Regions from separate parts of the Homo sapiens genome. Here all the other regions are linked to region 1. The links are contacts of gene promoters, found by promoter capture Hi-C in blood cells and fetal thymus (Javierre and others, 2016). All regions are on one chromosome and are shown on one strand. Each heading gives the region's core, a stretch centred on a gene start or on the middle of the fragment in contact. The rest is flanking DNA. Distances are from core to core; before and after follow the strand shown. Region 1 holds the start of KDM8 (lysine demethylase 8). Region 2 overlaps IL21R (interleukin 21 receptor). Region 3 has its middle 15 kb from the start of IL21R. Region 4 overlaps IL4R (interleukin 4 receptor).

What was found. Contacts are between HindIII fragments. The CHiCAGO score rates a contact against its expected background, and 5 or more counts as called.
Region 2: a fragment that was not itself captured here is called in contact with the fragment with the promoter of KDM8 in region 1 in 9 of 17 cell types (fetal thymus, naive CD4 T cells, non-activated CD4 T cells and 6 more); the score reaches 11.9 in fetal thymus.
Region 3: a contact is called between a fragment that was not itself captured here and the fragment with the promoter of KDM8 in region 1, in 2 of 17 cell types (monocytes and neutrophils). The highest score is 6.4, in monocytes.
Region 4: a fragment that was not itself captured here is called in contact with the fragment with the promoter of KDM8 in region 1 in 5 of 17 cell types (neutrophils, activated CD4 T cells, naive CD4 T cells and 2 more); the score reaches 8.7 in neutrophils.

Annotation. Positions count from the first base shown.
Region 1 is chr16:27,202,146-27,204,970 of GRCh38, forward strand. KDM8 (lysine demethylase 8) reads left to right here and starts at 1,381. Exons shown (of 8, transcript NM_024773.3): 1 at 1,381-1,491. RefSeq lists an enhancer at 1,426-1,585. The HindIII fragment of the contact is 9,655 bases long and covers 1-2,273 here.
Region 2 is chr16:27,404,356-27,407,180 of GRCh38, forward strand. All of the region lies in intron 1 of IL21R (interleukin 21 receptor), which reads left to right. Among named protein-coding and RNA genes, the nearest start is that of IL21R, 3.6 kb to the left of the region's middle. RefSeq lists enhancers at 1,108-1,696, 1,471-1,920, 1,697-2,285. The HindIII fragment of the contact is 3,807 bases long and covers 1-2,825 here.
Region 3 is chr16:27,385,286-27,388,110 of GRCh38, forward strand. No RefSeq gene overlaps it. Among named protein-coding and RNA genes, the nearest start is that of IL21R, 15 kb to the right of the region's middle. The HindIII fragment of the contact is 1,669 bases long and covers 618-2,286 here.
Region 4 is chr16:27,344,603-27,347,427 of GRCh38, forward strand. It overlaps IL4R (interleukin 4 receptor), which reads left to right. Exons shown (of 11, transcript NM_000418.4): 5 at 267-418; 6 at 1,865-2,016. Among named protein-coding and RNA genes, the nearest start is that of IL4R, 32 kb to the left of the region's middle. The HindIII fragment of the contact is 9,331 bases long and covers 1-2,825 here.

The DNA of each region.
Region 1 (2,825 bases), core at 131-2,630:
TCACTTATAAGACAATGAATGAGAATTGGAGGGTCTGTGTCCTGTTTACCTGCTCTCACAGGTAAACAATGGGGGTGGTGTCTTGGAGTCTTATCTAAATTCTCTTGTGGGGGTGGGGGGTGATTCTTTGCAGTAAACTTTTTTCCACAACACAAAAGGGTGAGAGCAATTCCTTTTTACTTTTTTCCGGGGACACAAGACTCAGGGAAAATTCAACATTGTCACTACTCAAGGGTGGAAACTTAGTGTAGCACATAACCATGAGGATTCTAAACCTGTGGCTGCTGAGTTCAAACACCAGCATCCCAGTGAGCCTGGTGGGTTAGGAGATCTTTCTGTGCTTTACTTGCTCCCTCCCTGATATGGTTTGGCTGTGTCCCCACCCAAATCTCATCTTGAATTGTAGCTCCCATAATTCCGTGTTGCGGAAGGGCCCAGTAGGAGATAACTGAATGATAGGGGAGGTTCCCCTCATACTGTTCTCCTGGTAGTGAATATGACTCATGAGATCTGATGGTTTTATAAGCGGTTTCCCTTTTCACTTGGTTCTCATTATCTCGTCTTCCACCATGTAAAACGTGCCTTTCACCTTCCACCATGATTTTGAGGCCTCCCCAGCCATGTGGAACTGTGAATCCATTAAACCTTTTTGTTTGTAAATTGCCCAGTCTCGGGTATGTCTTTATCAGCAGCATGAAAGCGGACTAATACACTCCCTAAAATGGGGATGAGCATGATCATTACAATAGCTACGATCCTCATATTTTTAAAGTATTTTAGCACCGTACCTAGAATCCACTAATCTATGAACTGATCCTGAGCAAGCCTGTTTCCTACTCAGACCCCAAGCTCAGTACGAACATAACTTTCCATGCCTCTGTGCAATGCTGCAAAAGGCGTGCATACTTGGAGTCCACAGGAGTGTGTGCTCAAAACACAAAAGTCCCAGTGACCACGCACCACTCGGCATCAAAGCAAAGGTGGCAGGAGTGTGTCCCCTGGCCACTTGCCTTCTCACTCGAACAGACTGTGGATGCAGCACTTGCTCGTGGGTAATTGTGGATCTGACTTTCCAAAAGTACAAGTATGTGGCCACTTTAATCACTGAGCCTCAGTTTCGCTCTCTGTAAAATAGGGAGAACTAATAATCCTAGCTGCAGAGATTAAATGGTGGATGCAAACAGCCTTGTACGAAGTTGTTATCTGTGCAGAGGAAAAAGCGGTATCACTAGCGTGGAAGGACCCAGAGGATACAGCCAAGCCTTTCTGTCTTCTCCATCCCCCGGCCTTTTAAACAGCAGTGGGGCGGGGCCACGGCATCGATCACTCGGCGCTCCTCCAGGCACTGCGTCGTGATCAGACGAGCGGTGAGCGATCGATACTCCTATGCTAGCCTCTGGCTCCTCAGGGGACACAGCCGAGTGGTCGGACCAAACGCAACGAGTCTTCGCCAGCCCAAAGGCGACTCGACACCGTCCCAGCTGAAGAGAGGTTAGTCTGAGCAACTCGAGAGCGGAGTCAGCTCCAGTTCCTCAGAAGTGGAGAGGCCGGGTTCAGAGGCATAGACCGCGCAGGCGTCATGTGAAGCAGCCAAGCCCGGCCTCGCGCGTGCGCCTTGGAAAACCCCGAGGGTGGCTCGAGTTGCCGCATGCGCTCTGAGAATGCAATTTAGCTCGTCGCCGGCCTGCCCTGCGGGAGGATAAAGGGAAAGGTTCCGCGCGTGCGTATGCTCGTCTCTTGGCAGTGGTTTTGCGCATGCGTGAGGGCAGGCCCTTACGGCGGGCTGCTGTGCGCTTTAGCGGTTCTTGGCGTCGCGTTGGTGTAGGCCTAGTGCGCCTGCGCGGGTTTTATACTCTGCTATATGTGTGTCCGCTGCTTTTAGGCAACCAGCCGCTGCCCCTGGGCCGCAAGGCAGGCTGGAAACGATTCCGCCGTCAGGTCCCAAATATGAGCCGCGAGAAATGCAGCCCCGGGGAAGGCGCTGAGGAGGGAAGGGGGTCTGAGGCCTCGGGGCTCAAGGCCAGTGCGGGGTACGGGGGACCCTCTGGGGCCTGGGTGTGTGACTGCCCTAAGGAAAGGTGCTTGTAGCTCGGTAGGACTTAACGATGGGCATCGGTGCGTTTCCCGGCAACGGTAGGAATCGCCGTGCTCAGGAGGACTCGGGAGCAAGCCCGGGGACAGGAGGTGCGCAGGCGTTGGGGCCACACGGACGACCCAAACACAAGACTGTGTGCCCCTTAGAGAGCCAAAGGGATCCCTGTGCCATGAATTAAAGCTTTCTGGAAAATGTTCCAAACTTTCCTGGGAAGTTTTACGAAGCTCTTGTTTTTGCACAATTTTTGTGGAATACTGCCATAATAACATTGAGGAGATTAGAGAACTGGACCGCCTGTTCCCAGAAAGCTAGGTGTAGGCTGATCTGTCCTGGAAGCCCCTTTTGGGAGGCTTTCTCATGACCAGCATGGTGCTTGCAGAGTGCCCACCCTGAGACCCTCTGCAAATCACAGTGAGGCTCTCGGAGAGGCCATTCCACCCAGCCACCTTAAAGAATACTCAGGGAGGTGCTTTAGAGGAGTTGATGTTTAAAAATAATTTAAGGCTGGGCGCGGTGCCTCACACCTGTAATCCCAGCCCTTTGGGAGGCCGAGACAGGCCGATCACTTCAGGTCAGGAGTTCACAAGACCAGCCTGACCAACATGGCGCAACCCCGTCTCTACTAAAAATAAAAAATTAGCTGAGTGTGGTGGTGCACATCTGTAATCACAGCTGCTTGGGCGGCTGAGGCAGGAGAATTGCTTGAACCTGGGAAGCGGAGGTTGCAGTG
Region 2 (2,825 bases), core at 22-2,521, 200 kb after region 1:
CGTTCCTGGTTTCAGGCTAGGAGAAGAAACTGGGAGGTGGGGATTAGAGCCAGTAAGGGGCTTGTGGGCAGTAGAGTAGGGGGTGGATACCAGAGGAGGAGGCCCATTCAAGAGAAAGCCAGCCACCAGAAGTTCTGGGAGGAACCCACCTCTTTGTAGCATCAGGACAACCCAGGTGCCTGATAAATAAATGAATGAAAGGAACGGGGTATCCGTTCCTTCCACAGCCAGAGAGGGAAGCTAGCGCCTTCAGCATCCTCACAGGCAGGCACAGGGGCCTTCTCCACACAACTAGGAAGGGGTGCCTGCGGTTAGATGGGGGAACTGGAACTGGCTTCCCAGCACACCACCCCTTGTGACTTTGAGCTGTGGAACTGGCCAGACCTGGGTTCAAGTCCACCGCTTAGTACCTGTGTGACCTTGAGGAAGCCACCTAACCTTTCTGCAGCTCAGTTGCTGCATCTGTAAGAGTGGAAATAGGAATAAGAATGCCTGTCTTAGGTCTGTGGTGAGGATTTACTCAACCTATTCTTCATGGAACATCTACCATGGCCCAGGCACCTCCCTAGGTCCTGAAGCTCTGGGGTACACAGAGAGAGCCAGTGTGATGGGGAAGGCAAAAGAGCTGGGCACAGATGGCTCATGAGAAGTGCCCGCTATCATGTTTTACTTTTTTTTTTTTTTAATTTTTTTTTGAGACAGAGTCTTGCTCTGTTGCCCAGGCTGGAGTGCGGTGGCGCAATCTCAACTCACTGCAACCTTCATCTCCCAGGTTCAAGCGATTCTCCTGCCTCAGCCTCCCGAGTAGCTGGGACTACAGGCACCTGCCACCACACCTGGCTAATTTTTGTATTTTTAGTGGAGGCGGGGTTTCACCATGTTGGCCAGGCTGGTCTTGAACTCCTGGGCTCAAGTGATCTGCCTGTCTCAGTCTCCCAAAGTGCTGGGATTATAGACATGAGCCACCGTGACCGGCCTATGTTTTACTTTAAATATGTAAGAGCTCTTTGCTTTTAGCTATGAAAATACAGAAAAAAAATAATAAATATTATTGGTCATATTGGCATATATGAGACCTCAGTAAATAAGAGCTCTTATGATGATTCTGCTTCCCCCCTTTTACAGATGGGGAAACTGAAGTTCAGAGCAGGGTGGGGGTTTTTCTAGGGTCACTCAGGGAACCGTCTAGAAGGGAGCAGTGAAAAGAGGGGAACAGATGCTTCCTCCAGGAAGAGGGTCTTCTTGCCCTCGCAGCCCCTTCCTCACATGCCCTCCTTCCCTGCCCTCCGGAGCCCCCGGACACGTGAAGGGGAGGGAGAGGGGGCAATGGGAGGAACCCACCCCCACCCCTGGCTCACAGGTGCCACCGCCCCCACTCCCTGCCCTGGCCCCAGGCCAAAGGGACTTTTCATGACAGCTCAAATGAGACCTCTGAGTAAACTTGGAACTTCTGAAACGACCTGAGAATATTCCCCAGGCTGGGGGGCAGGGGCCACAAGGAGGGCCCCCGACTGCCCAGGACATCTGCATCAGGAACCCAGCCTGCTGATCTCTGCAGCCCACAGGAAGGATCTGGCCACCCCGACCCCTGCCCTGAATTGTCCCCGGGGAGTTGGGGCAAGTGCACCAGCCCGGGTCCTAGCCCAGGCCCCTGCCATCCCCCACTGTGTGAACAGGACAAGGCCCTGGGCCTCTCTGGGCCTCCTTTCCCCATCTGCCAAGCGGGCTTGACTAGGACGAGGGCTTGCCAACTTTCCCCAGAATGAATCAGTAACACCAGTCCACTTTGGCCAGGGCCAGGGCGGGCTGATGGGGGCTGCTGGGAACTGAGGGGAGAGAGACGGTGGGTGGCCAGCTCCGCTCCATCTCGTGGCATAGTTCAAAGCCTCCTTTCACTGCTCTACAAGCGGCCCCTCCTGGGCTGGAGGAAATGGAGCTGGAGTGAGATCTGGCTGCAGAGGCTGAGAGATTGCAAGGTTTGGGCAAGGCTGCAGAGGATGGCAGGGCTTGCAGGGAGATAGAGATTGCACAGGCAGCGGGGGTGGGGAGTGGGGGGTGCGGGTGCTGGGACTGGGACCTCATGCTCCACAGCTAGGAGAGGTTGCACAGGCTGGAAGAAGTGCCAGGAGGGAAAGATTGCTGGAGCTAATAGAGATTTGCTGCCTGGCTAGGAGAGAGAGATAGGCTGAGAGGTCGCACAGCCTCAGAGGTTGCACGAGCTGGGGAGGAGAAGGCCCTTCCTCTCACCTTCGTCTTCTACTGATTAACTGTAAGCCTGAGGTCCCCAACATACCTGCCTTCAGACACCCATAACCCACCCCTTGCCACTGGCGAAAAAAAAAAAGATGAAAAGCAACTAACACTAACCACACACCTAATACTAACCACACTAACCTGCCTCACACTCCGCATCCAGGCTAAGCCTGCTGCCCCCATTCCACAGATGAGGAAAGCTGAGGCTCAAAGAAAGGCAGAGATACGGCCAAGTTCCCACTGTGAGTGAATGGCAGAGTCTGCTTTCTGACCCAGGGCCACTGGGCTAGTTCTTCCCCAGCCTGAGAACCCACTGAGATGAGAACTTGCTGTGTGACCCTGGGCAGCCCACTGTCCTTCTCTGAAAGTTCCTTGTTACTAATCTGATGACATTAGTCATGATTATTCACACTCTGGAAGCAGAAGATGTTGCCTGAGGTGGGTCTGGGGGGAGTTTCTGGGGACAGTGAGGAAGCTAATGAGGAAAGCAGGACCTCTTAGGGGCTGTCTCCATTTTTAGCCTCATTCATTCATTCACTTAACATTCTTCTTCAGCTACTTATGGGGCACCT
Region 3 (2,825 bases), core at 202-2,701, 180 kb after region 1:
TTATTTTTTAGATGGACTTTTGCTCTTATCACCCAGGCTGGAGTGTAGTGGCACGATTTCAGATCACTGCAACCTCCACCTCCCGGGTTCAAGCAATTGTCCTGCCTCAGCCTCCCCAGGAGCTGGGAATACAGGCATGTGCCACCACGCCCGGCTAATTTTTGTATTTTTAGTACAGATGGGGTTTCACCATGTTGGCCAGGATGGTCTCAAATTCCTGATCTTAGGTCTCGGCCTAAGCAATCATTTGTCTCTAGACTTCTCATTCCATAAGGGAATTAGCTCTTAAGTGTTTAAGAGCTTAAGGCCTCGGCCTTCCAAAGTGCTGGGATTACAGGCGTGAGCCACCATGCCCGGCAGTACCTCTTATACTTAGTACATGCCACTAACTCAAGTGCTTTGCTTTTAGACCTGTGTATCCGCCTTCCCATTGAATTTAAAACCTTTGACAGTGAAAAGAAGATCTGTTTTGTTAACTGTGAAAATTTTGGAGGTGGCAGGGGAGGGAGAAGATGGGCAATTCCTCCTCTGCCCTAAGACTGTAATCAGCTCACCCCACCGCACCCCCACCCCTGAACTTGGAGGCTGGGGCTCAGCCCCAGGGTCCCCTAAGAGAAAGCTTGCAGAGGTGCCCAATCAGCTCAGTGGTTGCTGTAACCCTCTGTCTTAGCTGCTCAGGATGCTATAACACAATGGATGGGTGGTTTGCACAACAGACGTTTATTTCTCACAGTTCTGGAGGCTGGAAAGTCCATGATCAACAAGTTGGTCCAGGAATAACATTAGGGATCAGAATGCAAAGGAAATTCCTTCGCGCATTTGTGCCAGTCTCTGGTAGGCACATTTTCAGTGCACCACCTGAATTCTCTGTGCAGCATCTGGAAAACTTTGGTAAACTCCCATCTCCCCAGCTCTGCAGTCAGAAAAGAAAGGCAGCTGAATCCATGCCTGATGAAGGCTCTCTTCCTGGCTGGCAGACAGCTGCCTTCTTGCTGTGAGGGAGATTGAGGGCAAACTCCCTGGTGTCTCTTCTTATAAGGGCACTAACATTATCAGATCAGGGTCCCACCCTTCTGAGCTCATTTCACCTTAATTACTTCCTTAGCGGCCTCATCTCCAAATACAGCCACATTGTGGGTTAAGCCTTCAGCATATGAATTTGGCAGAGGTTGAAAGCAGCACATTCGGTCCATAATTATCTCCCTCCATGGTAAGCCCTCCTATGTCTTTCTAAGAATCAGAGACACACAGACACTCAGCATGAAAGGAGACTTCATTGCCCTTGGTCCAACCACACACTCAGTTAATCCAACCATACCCCCACAGTGAGGAGTTGTTTACATACCAGGGACAGGGAGCTCACTGTCTTCTCCAGTTCATCAACTCTGACTATGCTGGTCTGGACCTGCTCATGACCCCCACCCTGAGTCTTCTCTTTCCAAATACTTCTGCTGTCTCATGGTTTTTTTTACTGTCTCCACACCAGCTGCTCTACCTTCTCGGTTGCCTGTTCTGAATATACATCAATTTGCCAATGTTCTTTAAAAATGAAGGTCCAGAACTGGACGTAGACTGAAGGTGTGGCCAGTGCAGTGAGAATAGCCTCCCTTGTTCTGGACACCATACCTCTATTAATGCAACCCTAGGGTGCTTCAGGTTCCCCTTGGCTGTGACACACTCTTGACTTTGGGAAAATCTCGCAAGCATTTTCCATGTGACATGTTGGTTCTGTGGTTCTAATCTTCATATACATGTAATTGAATATCTGGCTTGAAGTAAAGGACGTCACATGCTTCAGGGGGACCATGGCTCACATCTCTATAGATTTTTTTATACCTTCCCTTCTCTGCACCCTTTTCCCACCATACTGATGTTTTGTGATGTCCTTTTTTTTTTCTCTTCAAAATGGAAATAGCTTGGTTATTTTTCCCAGATTCCAGAAGTAAGATATCATTTTAAAAATCAGATAATACAGAATAACATAAAAAATTAAAAATAAAAATTCCCACCACCCAGAAATGGGCCTATTAACCCTTGAGGCTAGACGGCCCAGGTTCAAATCTTGACCCCGCCACTTACTGGCTATGTGCCTGTGGACCAGTTGCTTAGTCTCCTGCACCTGTTTTCTTATGTCTAAAATGGGGATATTAAAAGGTAGTTTGGGGCTGGGCACAGCAGCTCACGCTTGTAATCCCAACACTTTAGGAGGCTGAGGCAGGAGGACCACTTGAACCCAGGAGTTTGAGACCAGCCCTGGCAATATAATGAGACTTCATTCCTACAAAAAGCTTTTTAAAACTTAACCAGGCGCGGTGGTGCACACCTGTGGTCCCAGCTACTCGGGAGAGTGAAGAGGGAGAATGGCTTGAGTTTGAGAGGTTTAAGCTGCAGTGATCACACCATGATCACACCATTGCATTCCAGTTTGGGCGACAGAGTGAGACCCTGTCTCAAAAATACAAAATTAAAATAAAAGGTGGTTTTGATAGCTTATTGCAGATGGCAAGTCCCTTACAACTGTAAACAATTTTGTATTATTGTTATTAATAATTGTGTTGGTTACAGTTCTGTTTCTCCGGAGAACACTGACTAATACAGATACATCTGTTTTAGTCAGCTCAGGCTGCCATAGCAAAATACCATAGACTGTGTGGCTTAGGCAACAGTTTATTTTCCCACACTTCTGGAGGCTGGTAGTCTAAGTCAAGGTGGTTGATGGTTGTCTTCTGAACAACCTTTCTAGCTTGCAGACAGCCACCTTCTTGTTATGTCCTCACATGGCATAGCTACAGAGTATTCTGTTTCACAGATGTTTTATAAATTAT
Region 4 (2,825 bases), core at 176-2,675, 140 kb after region 1:
AAGTCCCAGGACCAGGGCCGGCAGCTAGGCAGGTGTGAGGAGCATCCTTGGTGCATGTGGTAAGAGGCTGTGGCCAGCAAGAGAGGCAACCCTAGTCGGCTGCCCCAGCACACCCTGGCCGCTCCCAAGCCCCCAGATCTGTCCTCACATCCGTGATCGGGAAGCTGGAAGAGTCTGATGCGGTTCCTGGAGGCATGTCCCGGACACAGCTGTGGGGCCCAGCCAGCCTACAGGTGACCAGCCTAACCCAGCCCCTGTGTCTGCAGAGCCCACACGTGTATCCCTGAGAACAACGGAGGCGCGGGGTGCGTGTGCCACCTGCTCATGGATGACGTGGTCAGTGCGGATAACTATACACTGGACCTGTGGGCTGGGCAGCAGCTGCTGTGGAAGGGCTCCTTCAAGCCCAGCGAGCATGGTGAGCAGGGCGGAGTGCGGCAGGGGTGGCTGGGTGTGTTCCCACAGCTGCCTGGGCTGAGGGTGGGGTGGGCAGGGGAGGAGGTGGGGTCATAGCAACAGCAGGAGGAAGCCGCCTGTATTTTCCCAAATCTGATGGGATTCCTGCCCCTGCCTGGGCCTCAGTCCTCCCACCTTTGAAACGGAGCTGGTCGCAGTAGACCACCAAGCCCCCTTCAGCCCAGCTGTTTCCACCCCTGAACTTAAGTGCCCAGGAAGGCGTATTGAGATGAGGTGTGCTTGCTGGAAGGCATGCCTGCTGCTGATTGAAAACCGAACTGGGAACATTCCTTCCATTCTGTGTCCACTGGTCAGCTGCTGCGGCTTTGGATGGTCTTGACCGTGGAAGGCTGACCTTCTTCTGGTACCCGGAGTCCCTGCAGGAATCCCCCTTGAGCTTGCTGGGCTGTGGTGACAGGAGTTTAAAACATGCGTTGTATTCCAGTGATGCATGATATGACATGCATCACAGGAATAAAAACCTGAGGTCTCATGGATATGATTGCTTCAAAGGAGACCAAGTTTTAAAACAGATGAATCAAAATAAAGAAAAATACTCAGTAAATCATCATAAAGTACAGAGATGTGGCCAAAGGTGTGAAGGATGCAGCTGTAAAAGCTGAAGTTTGAGGCCGGGTGTGGTGGTTCATGCCTATAATCCCAGCACTTTGGGAGGCCGAGCCCAGCGGATCACCGGAGGTCAGGAGTTCGAGACCAGCCTGGACAACATGGTAAAACCCCGTCTCTACTAAAAATACAAAAAATTAGTCTGGCATGGTGGCAGGCGCCTGTAATCCCAGCTACTTGGGAGGCTGAGGTAGGAGAATGGCTTGAACCCAGGAGAAGGAGGTTGCAGTGAGCTTAGATCATGCTACTGCCCTCCAGCCTGGGCGACAGAGTGAGATTACGTCTCAAAAAAATAAAAATAAATAAAAATAAAAAGATTTTTTAAAAGGCTGAAGTTTGGGTTACTTTGGCTCATACACTTTGCCTTCACTGTAGAAAGGTGGTTAGTAAAGACCAGGCGCGGTGGCTCATGCCTGGAATCCCAGCACTTTGGGAGCCCAGCGCAGGCAGATCACTTGAGCCCTGGGCTATTGAGGCTGCAGTGAGCTGGGATTGTGCCACTGCACTCCAGCCTGGGCAACAGAGTGGGACCCTGTCTCAAAAAAGAAGAAAAAAAGGGTAATTAATAAACACTAAAGTTCTATGTAGAATTTTAGCAACATTATTGTTATTATAATCTTCTTTGCTATGGCTCTGAATCTGTGTGGTGCTCCAGAAGTATGCTATGGAGGTTTTGTCGACCAAAAATCTGGGTGGTGGCTGTGGTTTGTAGGCCGGGGCTGGGCTGGGTGATGGGGGAGTCACTGCATAGATCCTCACATAGAGGCCGCTTCTCCCGCAGTGAAACCCAGGGCCCCAGGAAACCTGACAGTTCACACCAATGTCTCCGACACTCTGCTGCTGACCTGGAGCAACCCGTATCCCCCTGACAATTACCTGTATAATCATCTCACCTATGCAGTCAACATTTGGAGTGAAAACGACCCGGCAGATGTGAGTGGGCATGCTTTGACGTTTTTCTGTGACCTCTGGGGAACAGGGTGGGTGACCAGCAGAGGCCCAGTCCCTGGAGCCAGGAGCCTGGGAGGCAAGCCCTGGGGCTGGATAGCAAATCCCAGGAGCTAGAGACCTGGCTTCTCACCTGGCTCTGCACTAGGCAAGTCCCTTTGCTTCCTGGCCCCCCACCCCTCACATCAGAGAAGGGGAGTTATCTCTGCATGCCGCTCCTCCTCTGTAAAGGTAGGGCTGTGGGCCACATCTGTGTTTCCCAGTTTGGGGGACACAAGTGATCGTAGGTGGCACATTGACAGCTCACTTGAATAACCCTATTATTGAAGAGAATAATACTGACTCAAGAGACAGTGACCCGTGTCAGTTCCCTTTTGAGGCCAACGGGTTAAGGAGGAAGTCCCCATACAGCTGACTCGTTTACTAATTCCTCTTAATGAAGAGAGCAGAGGCCACACCCCAGGCTTAGACTTTCCCAAGAAAACAAGATCAGTTTGTTGGTTGTTCCCCATGGAAGCTGGTCCTGACATTCCCTTCACAGTAGTGTTGGTGGAGTTTTTGTTGTTGTTTGTTTTGAGACAGAGTCTCACTCTGTCACCCAGGGTGGAACACAGTGGCGTGATCTTGGCTCACTGCAACCTCCGCCTCCTGGGTTCTAGCGATTCTCCTGCCTCAGCCTCCTGAGCAGCCGGGACTACAGGCACCTGCCACCGTGCCCAGCTAATTTTTGTATATTTAGTAGAGATGGGGTTTCACTGCGTTGGCCAGGCTGGTCTCAAACTCCTGACCTCAGA